Regions from separate parts of the Homo sapiens genome. Here region 1 is linked to region 2. The links are contacts of gene promoters, found by promoter capture Hi-C in human tissues and cell types (Jung and others, 2019). All regions are on one chromosome and are shown on one strand. The core of a region is centred on a gene start or on the middle of the fragment in contact, and the rest is flanking DNA. Distances in the headings are between cores, read along the strand shown. Region 1 holds the start of HOXC4 (homeobox C4). Region 2 has its middle 14 kb from the start of MIR3198-2.

Region 1 (4,662 bases), core at 1,430-3,929, 160 kb before region 2:
AGGATGAGAGTCAGGCTCACAGCTCACCTTTCCAGGTGAGGCAGCCGCATCCAGGTACAGGCCTAGAAGGGAGACTGGGAGTGGGGCCGGGAAGGTTTCCTCCCTCTTCATCAACCCTCTCCACATGGCACCAAAGTTTGCTGAGCTTTGGACTTCCCGGTGGAGCCATCTGGGACTACAGTTCAGACTTAGGTACTAGGATTCAGCACTGGTTTCCCTTTGCCCTCTTCCAGCAATTTATAATGAACCCACCCCCACCACCAATGATTAAGACAACCCCACACAACCCAAACCACTATTAACCAAGCAGTAGCCTTCCTCCGCCCCCTCACTCACAGTCTCAACTTCCTCTCCAACCAAACCAGCCTGTCCTCACATGCAGAGAGTTCCGGACAAGAGTGGGCAAGGGTTCTCAGCCAACTCTGAGAATTTGGGAATCTCCATTAGAGGTGTTCAGCCTCTGGGGAACTCCTGTTCCTTCACCTGGCCTGGTTACAGTGGGGATGGGCACTGTCCTCTTGGAGAGAGAGTATTCAGGGACCACCAAGCACCAGCTCCTTGGGAGCTAAGCCCTGGCCCTGCTGAGCCTGGGGTGGGGCTGGGGGCCTAAGCATTGGAGGAGGGAAGGCAACGAGGGCCCAGGCGGGAATCCGCACCCTTTGGGCACGGCTGTGGGTCCAGCTTCCCTCTCATTCCAGCCCTTTGGGGAAGCCCTAATTTGGAAGTGGGGACCCTCTCCAACATCCCAAAGGTGATGAGAAAAGGATTGGAATCTCTTGCCTTCAGTCTCCCTCTCACAAGGGCTTTATTTTTTTTTTCCCTTTCCCCTCCTCATTCCCTTAATTGCAGATGTTCTAATTAAACCCTCAAATAGTTGTTATGCCGTTTTAAAAGGTACTTATTCAAGTGTCAACCAGGCTGGGCTGGGAGGAGGTAGCGTAGGGCGGCGAATTAAAGGTAGATTGACTAATCACGGCGGCGATCATAATAATAAAATCAGAGGGAAAAAAAATCACATTACGACTTTTCGTGGAAAGGAGGGAGCAGGCAGCCAGCGGCCGCCAGCCCTGCGCCGCCGCCGACACAAAGAGTGCGGGCGATTCCGCGAGACTGATTTATGACGTTTTACAGCCCTATAAAAGCTGTAGCGACGAGGCAAGCGCTCCTACCACCGCTGGCAGATTTAGTCTAATAAATAAAACATAAACAGTTAACTTTATGTGTCACTTTTATTGTTATCAAGTAAAATATAGCTGAGCCCTGGCAAGCTATGATTTTAAACTATAATTGTTATCAAGTACAACAAGGGGACCCGGCTCCCTCCCTGGGCTCTCCCCTCCGCTACCCCCCGCAACTCTGAGTTATGGGCGATCAGTTAATTGGAATCGGTGGCATGACAGGACCACCCCTAGCTGGGGGGGGGGGGTGGTGGTTAGGAAAGCAGCTTTTCCTGGCCCCCTCCCTCCTCTACGGCCCTGTCACCCCCCTCCATCAGAGTATTACTGTGAGTGGGTGGCAGAGAGAGAGCAGGGGGTGTGAATGGGCTGGAGACCCCAAAGGCTGGCCGTGCCTCCCCAACTTGGTGAGCTTAGCCTTCCGTTTTTGGAAAGCAGCCTGGAGCTGGCCTTTAGGAATTCGTGTTTACATGTAAACACACGTGTTACATGGATACAGCTCCTAGCCAGAAGCAAGCAGGCTCTACCCACACAGGCCTCCCTCTTAGCTAGGTCTGCCCTCTGTGGGGACAGAGAAAGAACTCTCAGGATCTTGGCTGGGCACCATCACAGGGCACTGACTCCTGGCAGAAAGCTCTCCTCCTTGCCCCAGCTCCTTGGAGATAATTGTCAGAAAATAGCAGGCCGGGCTGAATGGGGAGTGGAAACAGAAGCCAGCAGTAGAAGAGATCCTCTGCTCTGGGGCTGGGGCAGGGAGGGTCAGTGGGTAGCAGGGGAAGGCGAGACTTCTGAACTCTGCTTTTGCCAACCACTTCCTGTCTCTCTTCAGCGGGGGCTCAACCCCCAGACCTCCAGAAATGACGTCAGAATCATTTGCATCCCGCTGCCTCTACCTGCCTGGTCCAGCTGGGACCCTGCCTCGCCGGCCGCATGGCCAGAGGGTTGGGTGAGTGTGTATGGGGAAGAGGGGCTGGACTCTGGTATCCTTGGATGGGGGGCACTCCAGGCTCTCCAGCCTCCTCGGCTCAGCCTGGGCCCCTCCCCATCCAACATCCACTCCAGTCCTCATTCAACTTCCTCTTCCTGCGAAAGAGGGGCGCTGCCCCGTGACCTACACAGACTGAGACACGATCGCCATGAATGGAGACCTCTGGAAAAGCTCAGGAGCCGAGGCCCACGGGGCCCAGCAGAGGCCTGAGGGGAGACCCTGGGCGGGGGCTGAATCACTGCCTCCCGACAGTCCCCCAATGCCCGGGCTTTGGAGGGGAGCCGGGAGCTTCCCATCTCCTTTTGCAGGGGAGGGTTGTCAGTCTGGCGGGATGTGCACTGGGGGCACTCCAACCTCTGCTAGCTAACCCCACATCACCACCCACCCCCGCCTCCCAGCACCACCACCACCACACACACAAAAAAATTGGATACATTTTGAATAAAGCGATTCGGTTCCTTATCCGGGGACTGGGTTGCTCCGTGTGATTGGCCGGAGGAGTCACATGGTGAAAGTAACTTTACAGGGTCGCTAGCTAGTAGGAGGGCTTTATGGAGCAGAAAAACGACAAAGCGAGAAAAATTATTTTCCACTCCAGAAATTAATGATCATGAGCTCGTATTTGATGGACTCTAACTACATCGATCCGAAATTTCCTCCATGCGAAGAATATTCGCAAAATAGCTACATCCCTGAACACAGTCCGGAATATTACGGCCGGACCAGGGAATCGGGATTCCAGCATCACCACCAGGAGCTGTACCCACCACCGCCTCCGCGCCCTAGCTACCCTGAGCGCCAGTATAGCTGCACCAGTCTCCAGGGGCCCGGCAATTCGCGAGGCCACGGGCCGGCCCAGGCGGGCCACCACCACCCCGAGAAATCACAGTCGCTCTGCGAGCCGGCGCCTCTCTCAGGCGCCTCCGCCTCCCCGTCCCCAGCCCCGCCAGCCTGCAGCCAGCCAGCCCCCGACCATCCCTCCAGCGCCGCCAGCAAGCAACCCATAGTCTACCCATGGATGAAAAAAATTCACGTTAGCACGGGTAGGCAACTTTGCTTTTTGCTCCCCCCCTCCCTCCCTTCTTCCCTAGCGCTCCCCACCCTCCTCGGCCCCCTCTGGCCCCCGTCCTCCTTTCTCTCCTTCCCCCTCTCTCTCCAGGAGCGACTCTGGGTTAGCACAATTGAACTGGATTTACGAGCGAGAATGGGTAATTACATCCCCCATAAATTTTATGGCTTAGCTACTCTGGGCAGTCCGAGCCATGTGCTACGATCTGTTATGTATGTGTGAAAACTATGCTCGCTTTCTAAGGGCGCATAAATAATTCAGTGTCGTTACAATGAGGATTCCCCTCTTATTACACTACAAAGTCTTCAGCTTCCTTCAACTTCTTTATAACCCATTTAAGCTTGATGACTTTATTTCCACCACTCCCTCCTCCTGTTTCTCAGAGCTGAGGATGGGGTGAGGGTGGGGGGCGGGGAGCCTGCTGCCTCTGAACCCCACTATTTGCTTTTCCCCTCCCCCCAGTGAACCCCAATTATAACGGAGGGGAACCCAAGCGCTCGAGGACAGCCTATACCCGGCAGCAAGTCCTGGAATTAGAGAAAGAGTTTCATTACAACCGCTACCTGACCCGAAGGAGAAGGATCGAGATCGCCCACTCGCTGTGCCTCTCTGAGAGGCAGATCAAAATCTGGTTCCAAAACCGTCGCATGAAATGGAAGAAGGACCACCGACTCCCCAACACCAAAGTCAGGTCAGCACCCCCGGCCGGCGCTGCGCCCAGCACCCTTTCGGCAGCTACCCCGGGTACTTCTGAAGACCACTCCCAGAGCGCCACGCCGCCGGAGCAGCAACGGGCAGAGGACATTACCAGGTTATAAAACATAACTCACACCCCTGCCCCCACCCCATGCCCCCACCCTCCCCTCACACACAAATTGACTCTTATTTATAGAATTTAATATATATATATATATATATATATATAGGTTCTTTTCTCTCTTCCTCTCACCTTGTCCCTTGTCAGTTCCAAACAGACAAAACAGATAAACAAACAAGCCCCCTGCCCTCCTCTCCCTCCCACTGTTAAGGACCCTTTTAAGCATGTGATGTTGTCTTAGCATGGTACCTGCTGGGTGTTTTTTTTTAAAAGGCCATTTTGGGGGGTTATTTATTTTTTAAGAAAAAAAGCTGCAAAAATTATATATTGCAAGGTGTGATGGTCTGGCTTGGGTGAATTTCAGGGGAAATGAGGAAAAGAAAAAAGGAAAGAAATTTTAAAGCCAATTCTCATCCTTCTCCTCCTCCTCCTTCCCCCCCTCTTTCCTTAGGCCTTTTGCATTGAAAATGCACCAGGGGAGGTTAGTGAGGGGGAAGTCATTTTAAGGAGAACAAAGCTATGAAGTTCTTTTGTATTATTGTTGGGGGGGGGTGTGGGAGGAGAGGGGGCGAAGACAGCAGACAAAGCTAAATGCATCTGGAGAGCCTCTCAG
Region 2 (4,255 bases), core at 1,136-3,635:
TGTCTCTACTAAAAATAAAAAAATTGGCTGCGCGTGGTGGCACGCACCTGTAATCCCAGTTACTTGGGAGGCTGAGGCAGGAGGATCGCTTGAACCTGGGAGGCAGAGGTTGCAGTGAGCCGAGACCGTGCCATTGCACTCCAGCCTGGACGACAAGAGCAAAACTCTGTCTCAAAAAAAAAAAAAAAAAAAAAAAGCCTAAGAAGTGAGCAAGACAGAAGTACCCATTTCACGGATCAGGACATGGGGCTTCAAACCGAGGTCACACAGCTAGGACAGTGCATGATTTAAAGCCAGGCCTCCACCCAAAACTTTATTTGGTGTCCCTACTATGTGCTAATCAAGGTGTGGTTCCTGCTCACCCAGGTCACCCAGAGAAACAAAGTAGAAGAGCCATAGGATTTCTGACCAGGCTGGCGAGAACAGGGCAAGCTTCCCAGAGGAGCCTTTTCTAGGGTTGCAGGGAGGACATTTCAGGAGCGGCCCTGAATGCGCCAAAGCTAGGGGATGGGACTGGCGAGTTGCCACGGGAGCCCACGTGAGGGTCTTCGAGGAGGTCTGCGCCACCCGGGTGCAACCCGAGGCTACGGTTCATCCAAACACACCTCGCCCCATCCGGCTGGGGAAGGACTTCCTGCAAGCCCTGAGTGGGGGTGTGTGGCGGGACCACCCAGGTGTCCATCCAGGTGGGCAGTGAGCGTGAGAGCACCTGGTCAGGAACCTCCCACCTCTCGGGCCCTGCAGCCGCTTCCGTGGGGGAAGGGCAGCCGACTTCACCTAAGCTTCCACCTACTGCATCTAACCCTTAACTGTATCTCCCGCCCCCACCACCCCTGACGGGTTCCCATTATAAGAGGGTTTCAGATAACTCACCTCCCACCCCGGGAACGACGTCATCACCCCTTCACCCTCTGCCACCACGTCTGACTCCAACGGGGAAGTCCTTCCTGGTGTCTGACCACCCTTCCTCCTGCTGCAGCTTCAGCTAAACCTAACAACTTCTGACCTCACAGGAGAAAGGGGCTGCCTTAACTTTCCTTCTCTGAGCTAAACAATCCAAATCTCCAGCCCCTTTTCCACGCTCACATCCCATTTTCCCGTTCTAACAAAGCTTTCCTTTAGGGGCCTGGATCTTCCGTTTTTCCCGCCTTCCGACGTCAGATCAATCCATGACAGCTTTCTGATTGGCTAACCCCTCCCTTCTAATTGCCCCTGTCACTTCAGAACCTCCCCTGCTGTATCAATATGTAAGTCCCACAGATGGCCTCAGTTTCCCTGGTAGGGAGTTGAGCCGCCTCTTGGCACCCTCTTGCTTTGGGAGGAGGGGTGTCCTGCTCAACTCACCCGAGTCATCTCTTCCCTGCCCAAGCTTCTGAACAGGACACTGCCACATTGTCATTCATCTGAAAAGCATTTATTGAGCGCCTACTATATGTCTGGCCCGAATTCTTGTCTCAGCTCACAGCCCTCCGGTTGCTCCATAGGCTTAGGGGAAGGAGCAGGAGATCTTGAAATGCCAATCTCCAGTCTGGAGCGTGGGGTAAGAGAACTGAAGTCGTCTGCGACTGAGTGAAGCCACCGAGGAGGGGCGGGGAGGTGGGACGCCTGCAGGTCTCGGCGCTCGGAAACCGCGGAGAGGAAGCATCGCTAGGCGCCCCACCCTCACAGCGCTCAAACCTGACGCCGGATTTCCCATTCTTAGCGCAAGGAAGACCCCTTGTGGCCATTGTGGGAAGAGTCAGCAAGGGAAAAAAAAAAAAGCGGGAAAAAAAACAAGCCAGAGCCGGGAGATGACAGCCTCAGCCCAGACTCCCTTCCAGTTCTTGCCTAGCGTGGGGACTTATTCTTTGGTCGTTGGGTGGGGGAGAGGGGGCGGGAGTTGATGCCCAGGCCCCACTCCCACACCCTCAGAACCCAACATTTGGGACTTTGGGAATAATCTTCTCACTAAACCACCCGGAAAAATAAAACAGAAACAATAGCAAATGTGACTATGGTTAGACTTCTGTAGGGACTTCTCAAGAAGCGGATGGGAGGCAGAAGGACGGGTCACAATAAAGGGATGAAAGAAATCAGGTCTTCCGGACGACCCCCTCCCTGGCTATGGGGAGGGGTAATTCTGGGAGACCCGGGCGGGTGTGGGATCATCTACCCACCCTGCGGCTCCTTCCCGCTCGCAGTGAAGGAAGGACGCTCAGACCAACAGGGGCTCAGGTATTCTGGGTGTCAGGACCCTTCCTCCTGCACGCATCTTACGCAGGGTGGGGCTGAGGGCGTGAGGGCACAAGTCATTGAGGACATGGAGGGAACCCACGCTCGTCCCGATAGATTGTCACGGTCCTGAGGCGGGACGGTCAGGACAGGGAAGATGTATTTCTTCCCCCTGCATCCCCTCCCGCACCGCGTCTGAACTCCTCTGGGAGCGCAAGAACAGTAACAATGCTGCGCCCCTTCCCCCACCCTTTGACTCCGCTCGCAACCTAGCCCGGGCCGGGCAGCGCGAATTTGCATACATTTGCATACCCAGCTGCGCACAGCTGCATTCGGCTTTGGGCCATAAATTCGTGGCTGGCGGCTCTGGGCGAGCAGGCCCCACGCGGGGCAGGCGTTCTCCCTGCGCGCCTCCGCCGCGGCTGTTCACGTCCCGGGTACTGGCGCGTTCTCACGCCTCCCTGAGTAACCGCTGGATCAGTCCTGCCCGGACCCGGCTCCCCTGGCTCGAGCCACCTTCTGGGCATGTCTGTCTCGCACTGGCGCAGGCCAAGCCTGCAATCTCAGATTCTGGTTCCTCCATTTCTCTTGGACTCGACTTGGTCAATGTCTCCTGAATGCGCTCATCTTTACCTGACGCCTTGGACCAGGGGCTTCTGGTGGGATTTTCCTGCTAGGACTGGTGCATAGCCTCTTAGGTGGTAGTCCTGCCTCTGGGGTTACCTTGCTAAAAAATTGGTCTAATGGAGGTCAACAGCTAAAAACTCTGGACTCCCAGGCTTGCAGAATAAAGCTTATATTGTTCACCCTTGCCAAAGAAAGCCCCTGACGTTCTGTCAGCATCCCCCTTCTCTAGCCTTATCTTCTGCATCATGGCCAGACTCAGGCACACAACAGCCAGCGCTTCGGTTACACAAAACTGCTCTGAGGGTCCCTAAGCTCCTCATGAGCTCTCTCACTCTGCCTGGACTTACCTGCACCTTGCTTCCACCTGGACTGCTCTTCTGCCCTCTTGTCTGTTTGACAGACACATTCTTTGAAAATCATTGCACAGACGTTCTTTCCTTTGGAAAGACCTCTGAGATTCCTCTCACCCCTGGCAATTGATAATGACATCTATTAGCACTTACTGCAAAAACATTTGGTCAGTTGCACTTACCAAATTGTGAGCTCTCACTTAAGACAGAGAATATGTCTGTTCTTTGCTGTATCCCACTTCTGGGCACAAAGTCTGAAGACCAGGAGATACTCAAATACTGAATAAATGAGTGAGGCCTTGACTATTTCAGGCACACATAGATACCCAGGGCTCTGGTGGTCCCAAGCAGCCTTTACATGACATCCCATGGAAGAGCCCCTCCTCTTGGTACTTTTTGGGTCCTTACGCATCTTGGCCCAAGATTGTGAGGGGTGAGAAACCAGGGGGATTATGAGTGGAGAGCTGATGCCGTGAAAAAGCACTGGACTCCGAGCCAAGAAGCTGAGGTTCAAACTCTGGCACCGCATGATCTTGGAGAAGTAACTGCCTCCTTCGAAGGCTGTTTCCTCACCTTAAAATGGGAATAATAGTGACTACTTAATAGGGACTTTGTAATGATGGAGCGAGAATAGTACATAAAATGCTTACTACATGTCTTAAGAGTCCAGACAGGTGACATGAGGTTCCATCTCACTCCCTTGCCCCCGAGAAGGAGAGCACCTCCACTAACAATCCAGGCCAAGAGGCTTAAGGAATTTTACCAGTATGCATTCTGCAAGAAAGTATGAGACAGCGGCCGGGTGCGGTGGCTCACGCCTGTAATCCCAGCACTTTGAGAGGCCGAGGCGGCGGATCATGTGGTCAGGAGATCGAGACCATCCTGGCTAACATGGTGAAACCCCGTCTCTACTAAAAATACAAAAAAAAAAAAAAAAAAAAAATTAGCCGGGCATGGTGGTGGGCGCCTGTAGTCCCAGCTACTCGGGAGGCTGAGGCAGGAGAATGGCGTGAACCCGGGAGGCGGAGCTTGCAGTGAGCCAAGATCGTGCCACTGCACTCCAGCCT

What was found. Contacts are between HindIII fragments. The study calls those that stand out against the background at their distance.
Region 1: the fragment with the promoter of HOXC4 here is called in contact with a fragment that was not itself captured in region 2 in 7 of the 25 tissues and cell types used here (bladder, lymphoblastoid cells, mesendoderm cells and 4 more).

Annotation. Positions count from the first base shown.
Region 1 is chr12:54,051,156-54,055,817 of GRCh38, forward strand. HOXC4 (homeobox C4) reads left to right here and starts at 2,680. Exons shown (of 2, transcript NM_153633.3): 1 at 2,680-3,206; 2 at 3,695-4,662. The coding sequence starts at 2,768. The coding sequence ends at 4,050. RefSeq lists enhancers at 476-1,457, 1,458-2,439, 1,735-1,894 and a cis regulatory region at 2,471-2,971. The HindIII fragment of the contact is 12,403 bases long and covers 1-4,662 here.
Region 2 is chr12:54,215,499-54,219,753 of GRCh38, forward strand. No RefSeq gene overlaps it. Among named protein-coding and RNA genes, the nearest start is that of MIR3198-2, 14 kb to the right of the region's middle. RefSeq lists silencers at 502-687, 2,489-2,538. The HindIII fragment of the contact is 3,556 bases long and covers 608-4,163 here.